2 separate regions of the Homo sapiens genome follow, and region 1 is linked to region 2. The links are contacts of gene promoters, found by promoter capture Hi-C in blood cells and fetal thymus (Javierre and others, 2016). All regions are on one chromosome and are shown on one strand. Each heading gives the region's core, a stretch centred on a gene start or on the middle of the fragment in contact. The rest is flanking DNA. Distances are from core to core; before and after follow the strand shown. Region 1 holds the start of KDM5C (lysine demethylase 5C). Region 2 holds the start of CDK16 (cyclin dependent kinase 16).

Region 1 (5,590 bases), core at 2,897-5,396, 6.0 Mb after region 2:
AACCACCCACCCCCACCTCCCCCCAGAACTCACAAGAGTCTAGCAGCCCCTCAAGTCTGCACCCAAGGCCCCATGCACATGCCCTAGGAAACTTCTCCTGAGTCCCACCCAACAGTACAGTGCCAGGATTTCAAGAAATTAAGAGATGGAGCCTCTGTTTTGTTGACCCTAAACCTTCTCCACACCCACATTAATTCCTTATCCCCTAGGCACGTGCTGTAGGACACACAGGCCTGGGAGTACTGGAAAGCACACAGGATCTAGAGTCAGAAGATATGGGTTCATGTTCTAGATCCGCTACTTACTAGCTATGAGATTTTAGCTTTCTGAACCTGTTTTCTCATCTGTGAGGTGGGAATATGAACTCTAGCCCTGGCTTCCTTGCCAGACCAATATGGAAAATTAAAACTAGTTTTCAAATGAAAATGTTATTCAAAGGAGTCACCGTTATGACCTGACATCTAAGGCTGACCACACCTCACAATACACATGCAGGGTAGCTCAGGTCCGATTGTGGCAGGACGTAAAGGTTTGGGCCTTTAATGTTTGTTCTCTCAGTTTAAAGGGCCTGAGATAGACACTGCAGGGAAGAGCAAGGAACAGGGAGCAAGTATGTGTATCACTCACCCAGTCTGGAAGGCTTCCTGTAGATCCTCTCTCATACACCTGCCTGGTACAGGAAGAGGCAGGGGAGGAAGCCCCAGGGGGTGGGGGTAAGTGCTGGGATGCCTGACTGTGGTGGCAAAGAATGGGAGGATTTGGGGAGGGAAGTCAGGGAAAGATCATGAAAGTGGGAGACACTCTGCTCTGCCAAGTTGGAGCTTGCTGTGTCCTGCCCAAAGGTCAGCTGTGAAGAACCCCCTCTCCAACACCCCTTTCCAACCTCCTATGCAGACCTCTCCTTCCCAGAGCCCTGGCTCCTGCTGGGGTGGTGAAATCAACCTAAAGTAACCTAAACCAATGTTCTCATTTTATAAATGGGGAAAGTGAGGCTCAGAGAAAAAAAGTGAAATTTCCAAAATTACATGCTGAGTTAGTGGTGGGGCCAAGAACCCACGTCTTCTGACCTCTGATCCAAGGCCTTTGCACTACACCAGACATCAATGTTCATACATACATGCATACACGTGGGCGGGGGGGAGAGACAGTGAAAGAGAAGAAAAACTGTTGACCTCTTCTGCACACACACTTTTAGAAAATGGGCTAGAGGACTCATATTTTGCATGCATACACAGACCACACTCCCCTGCCCCTACCAGCCAAAGCAGGTGGCAAACATCTGGGGCTCAGTAAGCAGGGACAAAAAAAAAAAAAAACAGGCAGGCCAAAATGGTATGGCTCAAATCCAGACAAGCTCCCCATGCCCTCTTGCCTCTCATCAGGATAGGGCACTCCCCTCAGCACAGGTAACCCAGCTAAAAAGGTGCTCAAACCCAAAACTCCGGGCACCCTTCTTTCCTGCTGAATCAAGTTCTAGACAATCAGTGCAACATCAAGCACCTGACAGGAAATGGCAGCCCTGGAATGCTACGGCAGGAGCCATGGATGCAACAGATACCTGGGAAGGCCCTGCAAACCGCCTGCCTTCATCTCCAGACTACTGTATGCCAAATGTATGTTGGTATTACTGGGATGTGGTGATAAAAAAAAGGCTGGCTACCTGATGAAGAAAGCAAGATCCTTCCAAACTCCACTGGGTCTACTCAGGGTACCCACACTCTCCTCCCACCCATCTTTCCCAAGCGTAGCAGTCACCTGCCCAGCAATTCAGGCCCCAAACCATCCTTCCTCCAGCAAACCTCCAATTCCCAGGTACCCACCCATATACAGGTTCCCACCCTGGGCCCAAGCATCACTTGAGCGAGTACTTCAAACTTCAACCAGAAGAAGGCCAGCTGCCTAAAGGTGGCCTAGGAGCTGCCATAGAGAAGGAAAAAACAAAACCAAACCAGAGAGCCAGGTATCCTGGATTAGAGAGAAGCACACTGTTGAGCAGTGAAAAGGACGGCCTCCTGCTGGCCATGCACACCTGGGACATGTCACTCTTCCCCTTCCTGATGCCCCAAAGCAGGGTAACAACACCTACACAAGGCCAGCCTGCCTAAGTCAGTCCAAGATAGAAAAAAGGAATTCAGGCCTCAACTACCCCCTACGTCAGCTATGCCTCTTTTTCCCACAGGCTTGCCCAACCACTTCAGGGAGTGCCTCCTTGAGGCTGCCCAGGACTCCTGCCTCTCCCTTCCACTAGCCTTCCTGACCCTCTACCCACTGCCACTCCCTCACCATGGACAAGGATACCTCAGAAATCTGTGGCCAGACTCCAAGAAGGAAGAAATTCGCTTACCCAACACCTCCTAGAGGATCTATCTGAAACCATCCTAGATCTGTGGCTGAGCACCAGAAAGCACCAAGTTGGATAAGGAGGCCTGTGGTGCCCTCCTCAGGTGGGAATGAAGCTTCCTATTCCATTTCAGCCAGGAGACACCCACTCAAAAACACCCTTTTCCAGCAAAGCTCAATTTCTGCCCTTGGAATCCCAACTGATCACTGAACATTATCATCACTTTTCCACCATATCAGCAAGGCAGCAGCTTGCCCTAGCCCTTGGGAGACTTCTAGCCTGAAGCCAGGCCTAGGAGGAAAGCTATGGCCTTTGTTGCTGACCCCTGGCAATCATGTTCCAAAAGGGACAGAATTCCATGGCTCCATTCTGTTCTGCGGGCCCAAGAGTGCCCTATCCTCTGGGATCTCCTACATCCTGGACCAGAGGAGAGTAGAAATCTTCTGAGAAGGACTCACACCCCACCACCAAGCTGACCGGTCCAAACATCTCCATAGGAAGTCAAGTCTGCGGGATGATGTGCAGAAAAGGCCTTGACATTGCCTTCAACGAGGAAAAGAAGAGGACAATTCCCTGAACCCACCTCAAGGGAGACAGAGCAATCCCTGTGAGACTGATTTCCTGACTGGTCCAGCAGGCCAGGATATTATCATAGATGAATTGGCCTGGCAAGGTATGAGTAAATATGAGTCAACCTACATAGGAATAAACCAATGACCACATCAAACACCCTCACAGTCACAATAATTACCACTTATCTAGTGCGTACTACATACAGACGCTACCTAGTTTAATTCAATCCTCTAAATAACCATTTCTGGGATCCATTTCACGGGCTCAGAGAGATTACTTCTACTTTCCCAAGGTCACACAGCTGCTCAGCTTCAAAGTGGAGTTTTGAACTCAAGTCTGTCTCCCTTCAGGACTGCGATCTTTCTATTAATACTATACTATGCTGCCTGCCTTAAAGGAAGTGATGACAACAGATTGGAGAAACGTCTTATTTTTACAGCCTCGACCTAGGTGGCCCGGGCTAAGAGATGTGCGGGGTGCCTCTCTGTGAACTCCCTCCGGCCCACTAGGAATCCCTGTCTTAAACCCGGAGTGATTCTGAAGGGCCGGGGTGGGGGTGGATCTCTGACTCCAGGTCACCTGTGGGCCTCACACCACGAGAGGACCCCTGGCCCAACACCCTTTTTCCGATCCGCGCCGCAACCACAACGGTCCCAGCCACCCCCTCTCCCCACCTCGAGCTGCCCTCCGCCCCAGACTTCGCCGCTGGCTATCCTACTGCTTCATTCCGTCTCGCCGCCGGCGAAAACCGGCCCCGGGGCTTACCGCGGGTGGGCGGATCTTGCAAATGCCCGATTTCTCTGCGATGGGCCTGATTTTCGCGATGTAGCCAAGAGGGTCTCGGAACTCGGCCCAGCTAGGCTCGAACACCGGGCACTCCGGTGGCGGTAGGAAATCGTCGGACCCCGGCTCCATGGTGGGCCCGAGGTCTGGGCCAGGGATCGGGAGGCTTGGACCGCCCTTAAGGACTCATGGCGCCGCCGCTGTTTGAAGCCGAGGCAATGCTCGGAGGCTAGGCCCTAAGCGGGGCAGCCGCCGCCCGCCGAGGGCCTAAGGGGGCGTGTGGCCGTCGTGCTCTGAGAGTCTCAGGCTGACTCTACTGCTACCGCCTCTTCGTCCCGCTCCGTTTCTTCCAAACTGTGTGGTTGCCTCCCCACTACCGCAGCCTTCGCCACCACAGTTACCTCCCAAACGCCGCGGCCTTCAGCGCCGCCGCCGCCATCTTGGTTTGTCAGCGTCTCCCCTCCCCACACCACAACAAACCGGATCCTTCCGCGGGGTGTCCTTCCGAGCCTCGTATACGTTGCGTCACACCAAGCCCTAGGAAACCTTCATATAGTGGAGACCGAGCTAAATAGGCTGGTATGGGTTTCTATTTGGAAGGGGTTACTCAAAAGTACCACCCCGGACTGAGAGAAAATAGTTCATTGCAACGGCGGAGGAACAAGATTGTAATTAGTTTGCCGGATCGTCTTTCCGGATGGACCGGCGGTGCACGTTTAAAGGCCAGTGATGCGCATGCGCGTTATGGAGACCGGAAGAGGAGCTGGTGTCCGTGGGTGGTGGAGTCAAACCGGCACTCCCCCGCAGACCTCAACCAGGTCGCTAGCCCCGCACCAGTGTTCTCTGTCCCTTCTCCCTGGTCTTAACGGTATGGGCCGCGGAAGGCGGCTCTGGGAGCCTGATTGCAAAGGACCCCTTATGCTGGCCCGCGGGATGGGGGGAGATGTACTAGGCTCCAGCTCTAGACACTGACACCTCTGGGGCTTTGAAATAAGGAAGGCAGGAAGCTGCTCACTCCCCGGGGATTATGGATTTTTAGGATTCTGAGTCCCAAGTAAAGGAAGGAAATCTTTATTTCATCCAAGGTTACAGGTAGAGAGATGGGGTTTCGATTCTTACCCCCCAAAAGTCACTGGGAGTCAGCATTTTAATGAACGCTTTCAACTGTTCTGTATTCACTTTTACCATGTACACATTTGTGGCATATACTCCTACAAAATAAGCCTGTGTGTATGTATACTTTAACTATTGGATGTTTAGCAACGGCGTATTTATCCAGTGTCAACTGTGTAAAACACCTGTTTGCCCATTTGTGAGCCTACAGTGCACTTACCAAACATCCGTGTACTTTTATTGTATTTATTGTGTATAGCCCCTGTGCATTTGGTACCAACTGTATGTACATTTAGTCCTATCGTGTGCATGTTCCTTGAGCAGTTTCTGAATAGGTTCATTGCAACTACAGTACTTTGAATGAGTATCATCAAACCAGTACTTTGTACATATACATCAGGCATCTACTGATTGGAGGATCATCTGTGTCATTCATCAGCTGTGGACCTACTGCATATAGTTTGAACACCTACTGTGCAAATATTTGAGTACTTGCGTACATGCTGATTAAGTAATTTTGTTTTCCCCCATCAGACTATGAATTCCTTAAGGGCAGGGACCATGTGGCCTTATACATCCTTAGCACTTGGCATGTTAAGCAGTAAATGAATGTTGAGTAAACAAAAGAAAAATGAATAAATGTCCTTAGTATATATTGACTGAAAAATATGAATACTTTTTGCAAACATTTCCTGTTTAACATATTAAACATCCACTGTAAGCTCGAGGCAGATAGGGAGTGTCATACCTTCGTGCAGTTAACTGTTCCTAATCAGATAC
Region 2 (6,205 bases), core at 1,721-4,220:
AGGTCTGCCTGTATTCCCCTTGAGGATCTTCAGCCTCCTACTTTGGAGAAGACAGCTGGCTGTGGGGACTGAGGGGTGTTCATCGCTTAGAGCAGGTAGCAGGAGGCCTAACACCAGCCCCACCGGGACTGCAGAGTTACCGTGCTCTGTCCTTGGTCTTGGCTGAGTGCTCCAGACAATTGAAAGCACCAGTCTGGCCACTGCTACATCTTTGCCTTCTTCTATTGTACTGGCTCCTGGTGCCTGAGGAGTCCATTCATACTTCTGTTCCTCAACTAACCAATAATTTATCTACCTTACTTAGAAACAAGATCCCTCACTCTTCTACTCAAACCTGAGTGTAAGGAATAGCTCAACCTGTTCTGAACTGGCTTGATTCCCATCACAGCCTGTGCCCACATCTGCTGCCTCCTGGGCCAGTAGTTCCTGGTCCTGGGCACAGTATATGCCCTTGTCCACCTCCTTCTGATCATTTTATTTTCTTGGCCTGCTCTGCTTGGGTGACCTTATCCTTCCACAGTTTCTTCTTCCCCACTAGGACGTTGAGGACAGAGGCATTTTCCCTTTGGTATCTAGTGGTGATACTGTCAAAGGGAAAGTTTTTCCCACCACAGGAACTTTCCCATTATTGCTCTAGAGTACCCTAGACACTCCACACCGCAGTCCACTGGCCACACCACTACAGCAGCTGAGGCTTGAACACAACTGTTGTCTTCTTTCTCCAGTATGCCAGCTCCTTTGCGGATACTCTATAGACACCTTGTTCACTGCACCTCCCCCATTACGGCTCCATGTCTTCCCCACCACAACTCCTGGATCTCCTTGACACCTTATTCGTGCCTGACACCCTTCTCCATCAAAACAAGCTTTTGAGTCATGCATGAATCCTGGTTGCATCTTAGTTGTTCCCCCTCCACCTCATTCCATTTTACTTCTGCGGTTTGTCTACCAGTCTACCATTGTTAACACCAGCCAGATGGGAGATCAGGGCTTAGCAGGCGGGGGTTGCGTCATTGCACCGAGCCCCCTGCACCCAGCAGCCACAAAGGATAGGGTGGGACAAAGGTTTCTCTTGTCACTGCCTGGAACTATTTGCCCACCTCCTTCTGATCATTTTATTTTCTTGGCCTGCTCTGGCAGGCATTCAACAAACATTTGTTGTGTGCTGTGTGCCAGTCACTTTCTAGGCACGTGAGACAGCAGTGGATAAAACAAAGATCCCTGTCCTCTTGGGGTTTTACGTTCTGCTAGGTTGACACCCAGAATAGATTATAAACACAGTAAGCAAATTGTACCTTAGAAGTTGATCAGTGCTCTTCAAAAGGCGAGGAATAGAGCCCGATCTGGGGATCTGGAATGATGGCAGTGCAGGTAGGAATTTTTAAATCGGAAAGGCTTCATGGAGATGACTTTGAAGCAAGCACCTGGAAGAAGTGAGAGAATGAGGCACGTGGATGTGGGCCAGCAGCATTCCAGGCAAAGGGAACCACAGCAAATGCAAAACCCCTGAGGCTGGATTGTGCCCGTTTCACTCAAACAGCTAGAAAGAGCGCTAGTATGGTGGCAGTGAGTCAGGGGAAGAAGAGGAAGAGATGAGGTCAGAGAAGTGATGAGCCTGTTCTATGCCAAGGCGAGGACTTTTATCTTTGTCAAATATTTCCACTCCCATCATGGCCCGGGAAATCTCACTAATGTAAACCTTACTGAAAATCCTAACTGCTGTGATCAAGGCTGCCATAAAGGGAAGCCCGGAAGAGGCGGGGAGGCTGCCTTGGAACAGGGTAGTGTAAGGATGTGCCAGAAGGCCTGCTGGAGGTTGCAGCCCTTTGAGCTGGACTTGGGGATAGTGTGGTTTTCCAGGCAGAAGGAAGTGAAGGATTAGGTCGGCCTGGTAGTACTTGGCACACAACATGCGCCCAATAAATAAAATGGAAATAAAACCGCGGAGTGTTCTACTTGTGTTGACTGACATCAAAACAAAACAAAAAACCCTCAGAGTGAGGGGAGGCACGGGAGGGGCTGTGCCGGGCAAGAGAGGTGGCAGGAAAATCCAACGCACGGCGCCTATGCAAATACTCGTGTGAGGCAGAAAAGAGGCTCCGCCCCGCTCGAAGTTCCAAGCATGCGCAGTAGCGGCTCCTGCGCCTCTAAGGATCCGCCTCTTTCCTTCTTTCTCAGCCTGGGTTCCACCCCGGGAGGCCCGCTGTATGAGATGGAGGGCGGGCTAAAGGCGGGACGAGACTCGATTGAGCGCAATTATGACCAATCACCTTGCGGAATATTCGGCCTATAGCGAAGGAGGAGCTCAGAACAAAAAGGAGACCCCACCCCCGCCGACGGTGAAAACCTATGAAACCTGGGCGGAGGCGTGCGGAGTCGGGTAGAGAGCGAAATCACGCCTCTTCAGTCAGCCACGCCCTTTATTCTTGCTCGGCCTCGCCACAGAGAGCAAATCAGATTGGCTGGGCGACAACCTCAAAGGGCGGGGCTGCACACGTTCACTACGGGAATGAGGTAGCGGTGGAGGGGGCAGTTGGGCGGGGATAGGCCGTCCTAGCTAAGGTGGTAAAGGCCAATAACTCTTCAGGCTGCCTCTCCTCGAAAAGTCATCTTCTCGCGAACCTTTAAAATGCCTTCCTCCCCAAGCACCTCAAGGGACTAGAACTGAGTGCTTCATTTGTCTTTTTTCCTCCTTGCAAAAGTCCCGTTTGCCACCATGGGGATGTACCAAGTGAGACCGAGTAGGGGGAACGAGTGGTGATTGACGCGCCAGGTTACTGGCCACTGCTCACCTAGGCGCTAGCAAACTTCTGCCAAGATCGGAACTGAGTACTAAACAGCCTCCACAGTTCTCCCTGGTGCCGTCTCCGGCTTGGCGCCGCATCCTCCTCTGGGCTCGCGATGGCCGCGTCCCCTCCCGCTGCGGACGGGTCCTTTGGTACATGCAGTCCGAGGTGAGTCCCCTCCTTTCCACTTCACCCTTCCGAGCGCCTGCGTGCGCATGCGCGGAGCGCGGCGCGCGCGGCGGTTGGGCCGTTGGCTGTTCGGCCCTGGGATCCGCCGCCACTCCGCGATCAGACCGCTCTGTGCCGCGAGCCGCCGTGAGCACTCGGATTCAAGCCGGCGCCAACGAGTCCGGGGGCATCGCCCGCAGCGGCCAAGCTCATGGCCGGCTGAGCGGGACGCCGCCTCCGCCTCAGCCACCGCCGCCGCCGCCGCCTCCTCCTCCTCAGCCGGCGGCGGCCCGGGCCCAGCAACCATGGCTGAAGACTACTGGGACGGGCGCCTGCGGCGAACAGGAGGAGAAGGAGGTCGCGCGGCCTCATCCCGGGCCGCCGCCCCAGGCGCCGCCGCGCCGGCCCCGCGGCTCTGAGGTTGCTCGCGCGCCCCCGCCGGTGAGCGCGTCCCCGAGGCGTGGAGGCTGCCCCTCCTCCTTCAGAACCCACCTCGGGCGGTGCCCAGGGGTCTGGGCTGCGGGGCTGGCAGGTGCCCCCACCCCCGGCGAATTTCCCAGAATGCACCGGGGCGGGGGGTCATTTGGGGCCTCCCTGACCTTGGCCCCGCCCTGGGCCTGTCCTGGGAGCTGGGGTTGGGTAGTGCTGTGGGTGCTAATGGGGACCTGGGGGAGTCAAAGGACCAAAGGGTGTGGAAATGGGTGACAATGGGGTGAAAGACTTGGGGGGGTTGCTGATGGGGGTCGGAGCATGTGGCAGTAAGCCTCACGCCAATAAGTCGTGTAAGGTTCAAGGCCCCGTGTGTGCTTGTGGAAGGAGGGCGGGGTGCGGAGCGGGTGAGGGACCCGAGGGTGTATAACGGGGGGTAGGGTGTCGAGGAAGTTCTAAGACATGCTCATAGGGATTATGTCCGCAGAGAGGCCCGGTGTGTGTTCATGGGGGACAGGGTGGCACAGGTACCAGAACGTGTGTTGGTGGGGTCAGGGCTCTGAGGCCTGGTGCGTGGCGATGAGGCCCTGGATGGTGTTAATACTGCGTGTCTGTCCGTGGGGCCTGCAGTGTGTGAGAATGCAGTGTGTGCTTGTGGAGGGCAGGTAGCTGAAGGACTCGAGTGTGGTGTGTGCGCCAGTGGGGGTCATGGCTGTAGAGGGTGTATGCCTGTGGCCTCGAAGGTCTAGGTAGTTTGGGACCCAGTATATGCTAATGAGGGCAGAGTGGAGGAAGGACCTGAGGGTATCTAACGGAGGAAGGACTGTGGAATACCTGAGCCTGGCCTAAAGGAGATGAGAATTGCGTGTCTGTCTGGGCCCAGGAAGGAGTGGTGGGGAAGTGTCTTAGCACTGTCAGAGGCTTAGTGGACGAAGGGTAAAGGTGATGTGAGGTGTGAGTGTGTCCATGGACACAGGGAATGTGAGTCTCGAGGGCACACTAGGAAGGAGCAGGGTAATAGAAGTACTGGTGGTTGCTAATGTGGGTTTAGAGACATAGAGGCACTTCAATGTGTGCCATTTCGAGAGTCAGCTGTGTGAAGTCTGGAATATGCTAATAAGCATCAGAACCTTGTGAAGATTGTGCCCTTGTGTCCGCGGAGGACCAGAGTATGTTGAGGTTCCAGGGGGTGCTACTCGGGGGTAGGGCTGCGGAGGGGATCTAGTGTGTAATAAGGGGGATCAGGGCTTTCATGAAGGGATCTAAGTGTGAACCAACAAGGATTATATCTGTGGAGATATCTCTGAGCAGAGAGCAATAGAGGACAGGAATGTGTGATGATCTCGGTGTGCTAAAGTGGATTACAGCTAGGGAGGGCTGAAGTGTGTGCTAATGGGAGTCAGGGCTGAATGAGACCTGTGTGCACTAATGAGGGTCAGGCCATGGTAGAACAGTGTGTTTGTGTGTCCCTGCGGAATAGGGCTGAGTAAGGGTTCAGGGTGCACTAATGGGGAGGCAGGACTGTGTGAGGCCCGGCGTGTGCTAATAGAAATCAGGCCTGAGTGAAGACTCAGTTTGTGCTGACAGAGGGGACAGGACAGTGGAAGGACTGGAATGTGTGTTAAGGATGGTCGTAGCTGTGAAGGGGCCTGAGTGTGGGTAACACTGGTTAGAGATCTATCTGTAAGGTTCACTTTATGTTAATAGCATTCAGAGCAGCATGAAGAAGGTCCAGTGAGTGCTAATGTGGGTCAGCTATAGAGTACCCCAAGTGCATGTTAATAGAGGTCAGAATCATGTAGGGGGAACAGTACGTTAATGAGGGGAGTCAGTACTATGGAGAAGGTAACAAGCAGCTAGGCCAGGGAGGGGCCCAAGAATGTGGTGGCAAGAGTTACTTAGAGGAGGCTAAGTGTGTGCTGACAGAGTTCAGGGCGGTATGTTATGTGTTAGGGCTTTGAATGCTGATGGGTATATGAGATAATAGCAGGTAAGATGTAGTGAGGCCTCCTTGAGGGTCTAGCGTGTATTAATGGGGATCAGGACATAGGGTGCGATGACCAAGTCCTTAGTGGTTGGTGTGTTGAGTATCCTTGAGTATGAGAGTAGTCTGAGGATGGGTGTATGTCTTTGGGGATCAGGAAGGGTCAGGCAGGACATGTGCCTTTTTTGGGGTAAGGTTTTATGTCCAGTTTCTTGCTCCCTCCTTTTTTGAAATCTAAAAAGCTCATTCAACTGAAATGATATTTAAAAGTTTCCTTGCGTATAAATGTTCAATTATCTCTGTTCACAGGGGCATGTCTGAGACCCCCATCCCCCTTTCTGGGAGTGTTATGTGATATACAGATTTTACACCCCATCTTCCTAAAATCCCAAAAAACTGAACTCCAGAGCATGTCCAGCCCTTGGGGTTTCCAGTTAGAGGTCGTGGACCCATGGCTCCTCCTGGCTTCCTCCCCATCCTCCATTCAGCCCTACTTCCAGTCTCCCCCAGCCCCTCCCCTACTCCCTGTCACAACATGCAAAGCAACTGGGTATCTGTGCCATATGGGGACACAAGGTTGTCTTTGGGAGCTGGCCATGCTTTACCTTCCTTGCCTTAGGCCCAGTATTCAGCCTCCCAGGTCAGGATGTTTTGTGGTTATCCTGGGTTCTCCATGGATGGACCTCATCCTGTATCTGAGGTCTTTCTGCTAGGGTGGCCCCTACCCCTCCTGGGGATAGTGAGTTCAGCCAGGTGGGGGCGAGAACTGCTGGGGGAAGCACCTGATTTCAAGGTAGCAGATGACCCATTTCTCTCCTCAAATCCAGCCCCAGTCTCA

What was found. The method cuts DNA at HindIII sites, captures the fragments that hold promoters and counts their contacts. A CHiCAGO score of 5 or more calls a contact.
Region 1: the fragment with the promoter of KDM5C here is called in contact with the fragment with the promoter of CDK16 in region 2 in 1 of 17 cell types (neutrophils); the score reaches 5.5 in neutrophils.

Annotation. Positions count from the first base shown.
Region 1 is chrX:53,221,061-53,226,650 of GRCh38, forward strand. KDM5C (lysine demethylase 5C) reads right to left here and starts at 4,147. Exons shown (of 26, transcript NM_004187.5): 1 at 3,680-4,147. The coding sequence starts at 3,829. It also overlaps a transcript of IQSEC2 not described here. RefSeq lists enhancers at 3,689-3,788, 4,029-4,408, 4,247-4,541, 4,419-4,468. The HindIII fragment of the contact is 15,929 bases long and covers 2,455-5,590 here.
Region 2 is chrX:47,215,711-47,221,915 of GRCh38, forward strand. CDK16 (cyclin dependent kinase 16) reads left to right here and starts at 2,971. Exons shown (of 16, transcript NM_006201.5): 1 at 2,971-3,395. It overlaps LOC105373194 (a long non-coding RNA gene), which reads right to left and starts at 2,940. Exons shown (of 3, transcript XR_949047.4): 1 at 2,793-2,940; 2 at 1,296-1,424. RefSeq lists silencers at 2,305-2,414, 3,115-3,274, 3,295-3,404, 3,415-3,484 and enhancers at 2,605-2,724, 2,845-2,914, 3,058-3,697. The HindIII fragment of the contact is 18,663 bases long and covers 865-6,205 here.